Linked DNA regions of Homo sapiens: region 1 is linked to region 2. The links are contacts of gene promoters, found by promoter capture Hi-C in blood cells and fetal thymus (Javierre and others, 2016). All regions are on one chromosome and are shown on one strand. Each heading gives the region's core, a stretch centred on a gene start or on the middle of the fragment in contact. The rest is flanking DNA. Distances are from core to core; before and after follow the strand shown.

Region 1 (4,161 bases), core at 1,537-4,036, 150 kb after region 2:
CCTAGGCTGGTCTGGATCTCCTGGCCTCAAGCATTCCTCTCACCTCAGCCTCTGAAGTAGCTGGCATTACAGGCGCCAGCCACCATGCCTGGCTCTGGGCTCGTCTTGTATATTCCCTGTCATCGCCCTAGATACAGCCATTTCTCCAACGAGTCCTGGTTCCTTTTACTGGAGAATGGTTTTAGAAACAGTAATCAATTTAACATCATAAAAATAACCTCATATTCTATGACCCCGATGTGATATGATAGGAAATATATCACACCATCTAGGAAATATTCTTGCCTCCCTCAACTCCTCAAGAAAACAACTTGATGGATGACAGAGCCTTGGCAGATGTTAAAAAGGAAAAAAAAATTTTTTTTGAAAGAAAACAACTTGAGTCGGGCACAGTGGCTCACTCCTGAAATCCCAACACTATGGGAGGCCAAGGCCGGTAGATCACTTGAGGCCAGGAGTTTGAGACCAGCCTGAGCAACCCAGTGAAACCCCGTCTCTAATAAAAATAAAAAATTAACTGGGCGTGGTGCTGGGCGCCTGTAATCCCAGCTACTCGGGAAGCTGAGGCTCAAGAATCGCTTGAACCCAGGAAGCAGAGGTTGCAGTGAGCCAAGATCGTGCCACTACACTCCAGCCAGGAGGACACAGAGAGACTCTGTCTCAAAAAAAAAAAAAAAAAAAAAAAAAGAGAGAGAAAAGAAAAGAAAAAGAAATGAATCTATCAAACCTCAAAAGCTAATTAACAGTTTATAAGAAATTCTGTAAAGCTATAACCCCGAGATTCCCAAGTAATCATGTGATCTCGCCTGAAGTGAAGGAACAGATAGCAGCTGAGAGTAGGGAGTGAAATGGAGAGTCCTAAAGCTGTCTAAATGCCTGGATCCAGTCAACTATGAGGTCAACTCTCCCCCTATTCTTCCATGATGTGGTTACATTAACCAAATAACTGTCTCTGTTTTGTTTATGCTGGATTGAGTTGGGCTTCTGTTGCTTATAACCAAAGAGAGCTAACAAATGTAACACATACAAACAAGGAAAGGCTTAGTAACAAGAATGAGCTCAACACACTGAGAAGAATAGAAAATAGGTTGAATCTTTAGGTAAAACCAGATTCTAGGTGAGATTTATTTAAAGCTAGATTAAATTTATTTGCTTTTAAAATTTAATAACCTAAAAAAAAGAAAAGAAACAAAATAAAAAATTTAGGCCAGGTGCAGTGGCTCACACCTCTAATCCCACTTTGGGAGGCCGAGGCAGGTGGATCACGAGGTCAAGAGATAGAGACCATCCTGGCCAACATGGTGAAACCCCACCTCTATTAAAAATACAAAAATTAGCTGGGCATGGTGGTGCACATCTGTAGACCCCAGCTACTCGGGAGACTGAGGCACGAGAATCGCTTGAACCCTGGAGGTGGAGGTTGCACCACTGCATTCCAGCTTGGCAAGATAGCGAGACTCCATCTCAGAAAGAAAAATAAAATTAATAGTCTAATTTGATTACTGCTACACTCCTGTGTGTTGGTAGCATTAACAATAGGGTTCATTTTTTTAGCGTATTTTTCTTTATTCTTTATTTCAATTGCACTCTGATCATTTATCATAATTTTAGAAATCAACAGATCCAACATTACTTTTCATAATATAACTAGGGCCTAAAGTGAATAAATTATTTGTCCACGCTCATAATCAGCTAAAGGTAGACATGTGGAGCATTAGTGCTAAAGCACAGTGCTATAAGAAGGAAGTAGGTTGTAGAGACAGATAGGACTGGGTTTGTTCCCTGGTTCCTTTCTTCACACAGTTCTTTTTATTTTTAATATAATTTTTACATAAGTAGTACACGGACATGATAGAAAATTCAGAAGCTTATACTGTAAAAAGCAGGCAGGCTATTTCTCCTATCCCTCTGTCCAATATCTCCCCCACTGCCACCTTTGACAACCACTGTTACAGTTTCTTGGGTACTCCTCCAATGATAGTGCATTCAAGCATATTGAAGACTGGATCATTTAGACTTCAAGACATATGATGATCACTAAGATTTTTAAAACTAAAACCATACTAGAAGGACTGGAGTTTGGAAGGCCAGATAAAATTGGGACTAGAGAGAAATGAGTATCTATGAGATACCCTTCCTAACAGTTCTGGCATTTAAAAAGCAACATATTAAAAAACAAAACAACTTCAGTCCAACAGAAGAAAAAAGACTAAGAATCAAATAAAACTCCTGAAAAGGCATGATTTGTTGAGATTTTATAAAGAGGTATGTACAAGCACCTACTCTAGACAGAAGAAAAAAGAAATAATGAAATTAACCTGAGAACAAGTTTAGCTAGCACCAAGAATATATATGCAGTTCAAGTACACCTCATCACCCATCAATAAAGTAAAATATTTTCCCTTCTGAATGTTATCCAATAAATATCTGATTTAAGGGGAGGTAGGTAAGAAGAATATTATTTGCCACAGATGTTAGGAACTTAAGAGTAGCCATGAAAAAAAAATCCCTTGGCCTAAGTAATATATTAAAGATGGAATGAATTAAGTTAATCATTCAGCATACGACGTTAACAAAACTAGTTCATTTGTAGGAGCAAATAACATTTTGTTTGAGAGTTCAAATTGGAATTTTCTTTAGGCTTTTTTGGATTCTCTGTGGAAAAAAAGATCTTCTAAATTTCTAGATCAATGGTATAACCGTTGTAACATTTAAATATTTAAGTCCCAGAAAGAAATGCCTCTAATGGAAATGGAACATAATTTCGGCATACTTTTAACAAGTATCAAAAGGTACACCAGTCAGAATGGCTATTACTAAAAAGTCAAAAAATAACAGATACTGGCAGGGTCACAGAGAGAAAGAAATGCTTATCCACTGTTGGTGGGAATGTAAATTAGTTCAACCACTGTGGAAAGCAGTGTGGCGATTCCTCAAAGAACTAAAAACAGAAATACCATTTGATCCAGCAATCCCATTACTGGATATATACCCAGAGGAATATAAATGGTTCTATTATAAAGACACGTGCACACATATGTTCACTGAAGCACTGTTCACAATAGCAGACATAGAATCAACCTAAATGCCCATCAATGGTAGACTGGATAAAGAAAACGTGGTATATATGCACCATGGAATACTATGCAGCCATAAAAAAGAATGAGACTGTGTCCTCTGCAGGGACATGGATAGAGCTGGATGCCATTATCCTTAACAAACTAATGCAGAAACAAAAACCAAATACTGCATGTTCTCACTTTAAGTGGGAACTAAATAATGAGAACACATGGACACATAGAGGGGAACAAGACACACTGGGGCTTACCAGAGGGTGAAGGGTGGGAGGAGGGAGAGGATCAAGAAAAATAACTAATGGGTACTAGGCTTAATACCTGGGTGACAAAATAATCTGTATAACAAACCACCGTGACCAAAATTTACCTATATAATAAACCTACACATGTACCCCTGAACTTTAAAAGTTAAAAAACAAAAACAAAAATAAAGATAATGTGAATTACATATTCTTATAACCAAATTCTTAATATAGTTGTAAGGGAAATAAATCATAATTAGACTGTATTTACAAATGTGGAACTTAATCAGAAATCTTCAAAATGAATTTTATTATATATCAGATTATTTAACAAGACAGAACACAGCTCTAAAATAAGGAAAGACAAGATATATTATTCTACATACAGAAGCTTGTTTAAATACAACTCATCTTTAATATATTAAATAGGTAGGATCTTGTCAGTTTGCATTTTTTGTCTTCTTTCAAATCAGGAAAGAAGAAAACGCAAGCATCAAACAGTTTATAGAGTTGTCTTAGGAGCAGGTACACCATGTGTATCTGCTTTCTTATTTGTATAACACTATCCCCCAAATAAATCAATGGACAAAAATAAATTGGAATCAGTTCAAAAGTATGTTTTCCACTTTCAAACATGGAATTAATATTCAGTCTATATATGTAGTCATTTAAATTTTAATCTAAAAAATGATGACAATGGTTTGCAAATAACTTTTAAAAAAATTGACCATCTGTTTCAACAACAAATCAATTCTGTGTTTGCATGCATAGTTAGGAACTAAATTATTAATACAATCACAAAATTATTTAGATGTGATTTTTTTTAAGAGATAGATTTCGTT
Region 2 (3,996 bases), core at 747-3,246:
TGGGCACCGCCGGACTCCCTAGCTCTCCACCTTCCAATTGGGTTTGGCTGGTGGGGTTTGGCCACGAGCAGGAGATCACAGGGCAAGAGGAGGGGAGGGGAGGTTATTTATTCTCCTGATTATTTTTCTGCTGGGTCAACAAGGAATGTCTATCTCTCTCTTCCTAAGGCTACAGTCCTGTCAGACACTTCTTTCTATATGGTCTATTCTCTCTGTCTCTCTCCTTCCATTCTCTTCCCTTCCCATATAAAGGCTCCCTCTCATCAGCCCCTTTCTATTTAAGAGTGAAAACACTTCTCGGTTACTCAGATGTGGACTCTGCCCCTAGTTGCTTTTTCTGACCCTACCCACACCTGTGCTAATAGTCCCTTTGTTAAATCCTGTTCACCTGCCCCAATTTGAGCATGCTGTTTCCTGCCACCACCCTGAGCAGCACAGCAAGTTTAAGATCCTTGGACATGTCTGGGGAAAGAAATCCAAGGAGAAGAATCAGATTTTCTGCTAATCATTCTGATTTGAACATTGAAAGAAATATGAGCTTTTTTTTTTCATACTGAGCTAGCGAAGCAGGGCACGAGTTAAGAGTATTTGCATACACATCTATTCCTCTTATCAAGCTTGAGAATGCCTAGAGGGTAATCTTTTAAATGAATATTAATATGATATTAACCAGCACATGGTAGATGTTCAAGAAATGTGTATTGACCATAACTGAATTGTAAGACCTCTCTCCAAGCCTCAATTTCTTCACCTGTACAGCCCCCATCCAGATTGAAATCTCACCTACTCGGGCTAAGTATATGAAAAACAAAGGCAGTGCAGGGGTAATTGAACTATTCATTAGATAAATGCTTTTATGTCACTTTTATTGTTTTCTAGGACACAGAGTAATACCTACCTTGGTTAACAAAAGACCAAAGGAGGTGATGCCAAATGCGGTTAGAAGTGCTTTTAATCACTTTGGGAGGCCGAGGCGGGTGGATCATGAGGTCAGGAGATCGAGACCATCCTGGCTAACAAGGTGAAACCCCGTCTCTACTAAAAATACAAAAAAAATTAGCCGGGCGCGGTGGCGGGCGCCTGTAGTCCCAGCTACTCGGGAGGCTGAGGCAGGAGAATGGCGTGAACCCGGGAAGCGGAGCTTGCAGTGAGCCGAGATTGCGCCACTGCAGTCCGCAGTCCCACCTGGGCGACAGAGCGAGACTCCGTCTCAAAAAAAAAAAGAAGTGCTTTTAATCAAATAGTTCAAACGACACATAATTAACATTGTTTTAAAGCAAATGGACACTTTAAAGTGGTGCTCCTTCCTCTTAAAGCCCCAACCAGTGCTGGATTTAACAGCAGAGCCATACAGCCAAGACATATGCTGCTACGGTCAACACTCAACCCTAAGTTTGACACCAAAAGATGGCCGCCATTTATTATTGTGACAAAAGGCCAGATTACAAAACGCTGTGTACGGCCTGATCCCAGTTTTACAAAATACTCATACCCATCTATCTACGACGGGGCGCGGGGAAAGGGGAGTCGTTTTAGGAAGTGCTGCTTATTGCTGCCTGGTGTGGGAAATTATGAGTCTTATTTTCTGTTTATTCTTTTTACAAGAACATTTTTATAAATGAATGAATGAATGCTTTCCATGGGTGGATGAGGATCCGGCCTGCCAGGGTGAGGATCCTCTGGAACCAAGAGGGGCCGGGGCAGTAGAACGACAGGTGGCGGGGCTTTGGGCGGCTCCCTCCAGCCCAGGGAGACGCGAGTGCCAGGCCGGGCGCGCGCTTCACTTCCGGGAAGAGGAAAGAGGGAGGGGAGGGGAGAGGAAAAGAAGGGGCAGGAGAGAGAGGCCGGGAGGTTGGGAAAGGGAGGAGGAAAGCATGGAAAAGGGGCGCGGGAAAACGGGGAGGGCGCAGAGGGGCACGGCCCTCACTGCCCCGGCCGGGGCGAGAGCGGCTCCGCCCCTCGAGCGCCGGGTAGGCCGGGGCCGGCGGGGCCCGGAAGGCGACGGGAAGGAGCCGAGCTTGGGTTATGGCGGCGCCGGGCGCGCTGCTGGTGATGGGCGTGAGCGGCTCGGGGAAGTAGGTCCGGGAGAGGGCGGGGGGCGCCCGGGACAAGTGTTGCGGGCGCGGCGGAGGCCGGACGCGTCGCCGTCCCTGCCGGTGGACTGGGGTCTTGGGGACCCCCCACCCTTCCCTTTGCAGATGAAGAAACCGAGGCCCGCGGCTGCCGCGCCCTCTCCCCGCCCTCCAGCCTGCTCGCGGGGCGCCCATCCTGGGACCGCATCCGAGCTCCGGGTTCCCGCTCTAAGACGGGGAGGCTGCGGCGACCGCAGGCTCAGGGAGGAAGCCGCTCCTGAACAGGCGGCTGCGGGGCCGCGCAGGTGGAGGCCTAGCGAGCGGCGCGGGGCTAGGTTTCGGGGCGCCTTGTCGGGGCCAGGCGGGAGGGCGCACGGCCTCTAGCGAGAGGACGCAAACCACGGCCCAGGCTCTCACAGACCTTTGGCCATCTGGACACACAGCGGCCTCCTCCTATGAGGCCCTGGACTTCTCCGATTCAATTTTGGAAAGTGAATCGTTTTCCCCTTCCTTTCATCAGCTTAACCTGGAAGGAGACAGCGTTAATATGGAGGGTGGCTCCTGAGGGTTTGGAAAGAAAGAAGAGAATTGTGGAAACCACAGAGGTAGCCCAGTGTGCTAACCTGGAGACTGAGGAGTTAACATTTGGCTTCCTGTTTAAACCAAAGTCTAACTGTGCCCTTTATCAGAAAAGACAGCTGCTGTACCATTCGACCACAGGCAGCAAAGGACAGAACTTGATCAGCTAAAACATCATAACCTTCAAGGGCCTATAGGACCCTTCTAGAATTTTCTGAATCAGGAACGGCCCATGTTGTGGCCTGTGTAGTCAGGTGTATATTAAAGATTTACTCCAGGTAGATGGGTTTTGCTTTCCAAAATTATTGTAGGGTTCTCAGCCACAAAGATAAAAAGAAATCTTGAACTGCAATTGAAATAAAACATGGAGCCCCCAAATCCCTAGCTGCCATATGATTTGAATCAGTTGGAGAATGTAAAATCATTGCCATGGTGTGATGTAACAGGAGTGAAGAGCCCTAGGTCTTGGTTCTGTTGCTGTCTGGCTGTGTGAGCCTGGGCAGTTCATGTACCCCCTCTGAGTCTTGAATCAGATGAGGGAGGCCTAATCCCTATGATGTATAGCTTGTGATATTCATGTACTCAGTAATTATTGAGCTCAATCCTTACTCTATGTCATTGTCATATAGCGAACAGGACAGATAAAATCCCTGCCCTCAAAGGATTTACATTCTGGTATGGGAGACAGAGTAAATGAATATATGTAGTGTGTGAGTTGGTGATAGATGCTCTGGAGTAAGGGGAACAAAGAGTGCCAGGCAGAGTGGTCAGGGATGTCTCCTCTGGGGGAGTGGCGTTTCAGCAAAGACCTGCAAGACTTGAGGAACCTGCCATGTGGATAGCTGAGGAAAGGGCAGGACAGGCAGAGGGAATGGCAGGTGCAATGGTTCTGAGGCTTAGCTTCTTTTGTTTTTTTTTTGTTTTGTTTTGTTTGAGGCGGAGCTTCACTCCTGTTGCCCAGGCTGGAGTGCAGTGGTGCAATCTTGGCTCAATGCAACCTCCTCCTCCCGGGTTCAAGCAATTCTCCTGCCTCAGGCTCCTAAGTAGCTGGGATTATAGGCGCCCACCACCATGCACAGCTAATTTTTTGTATTTTTAGTAGAGACGGGGTTTCATCATGTTGGCGAGGCTGGTCTCAAACTCCTGACCTCAGGTGATCCATGCGTCTCAGCCTCCCAAAGTGCAGGGATTACAGGCGTGAGCCACCGCGCCCAGCTAAGGCTTGGCTTCTTTAAGGAGCAGGAAGGAACCCATTGTGGCTGAGTGAGGGGAAGCATGATGGGAGATGAAGTCAGAAACAATGCAGGTAAAGAGAATGTGGTCATATGCTGGCAATATTTTGAAG

Evidence for each region. Contacts are between HindIII fragments. The CHiCAGO score rates a contact against its expected background, and 5 or more counts as called.
Region 1: a fragment that was not itself captured here is called in contact with the fragment with the promoter of IDNK in region 2 in 4 of 17 cell types (activated CD4 T cells, naive CD8 T cells, non-activated CD4 T cells and 1 more); the score reaches 6.9 in activated CD4 T cells.

The regions. Positions count from the first base shown.
Region 1 is chr9:83,775,213-83,779,373 of GRCh38, forward strand. All of the region lies in intron 7 of GKAP1 (G kinase anchoring protein 1), which reads right to left. Among named protein-coding and RNA genes, the nearest start is that of GKAP1, 40 kb to the right of the region's middle. The HindIII fragment of the contact is 1,843 bases long and covers 1,866-3,708 here.
Region 2 is chr9:83,621,147-83,625,142 of GRCh38, forward strand. IDNK (IDNK gluconokinase) reads left to right here and starts at 1,997. Exons shown (of 5, transcript NM_001001551.4): 1 at 1,997-2,075. The coding sequence starts at 2,026. RefSeq lists a silencer at 1,692-2,221 and enhancers at 2,402-2,531, 2,552-2,601. The HindIII fragment of the contact is 10,566 bases long and covers 616-3,996 here.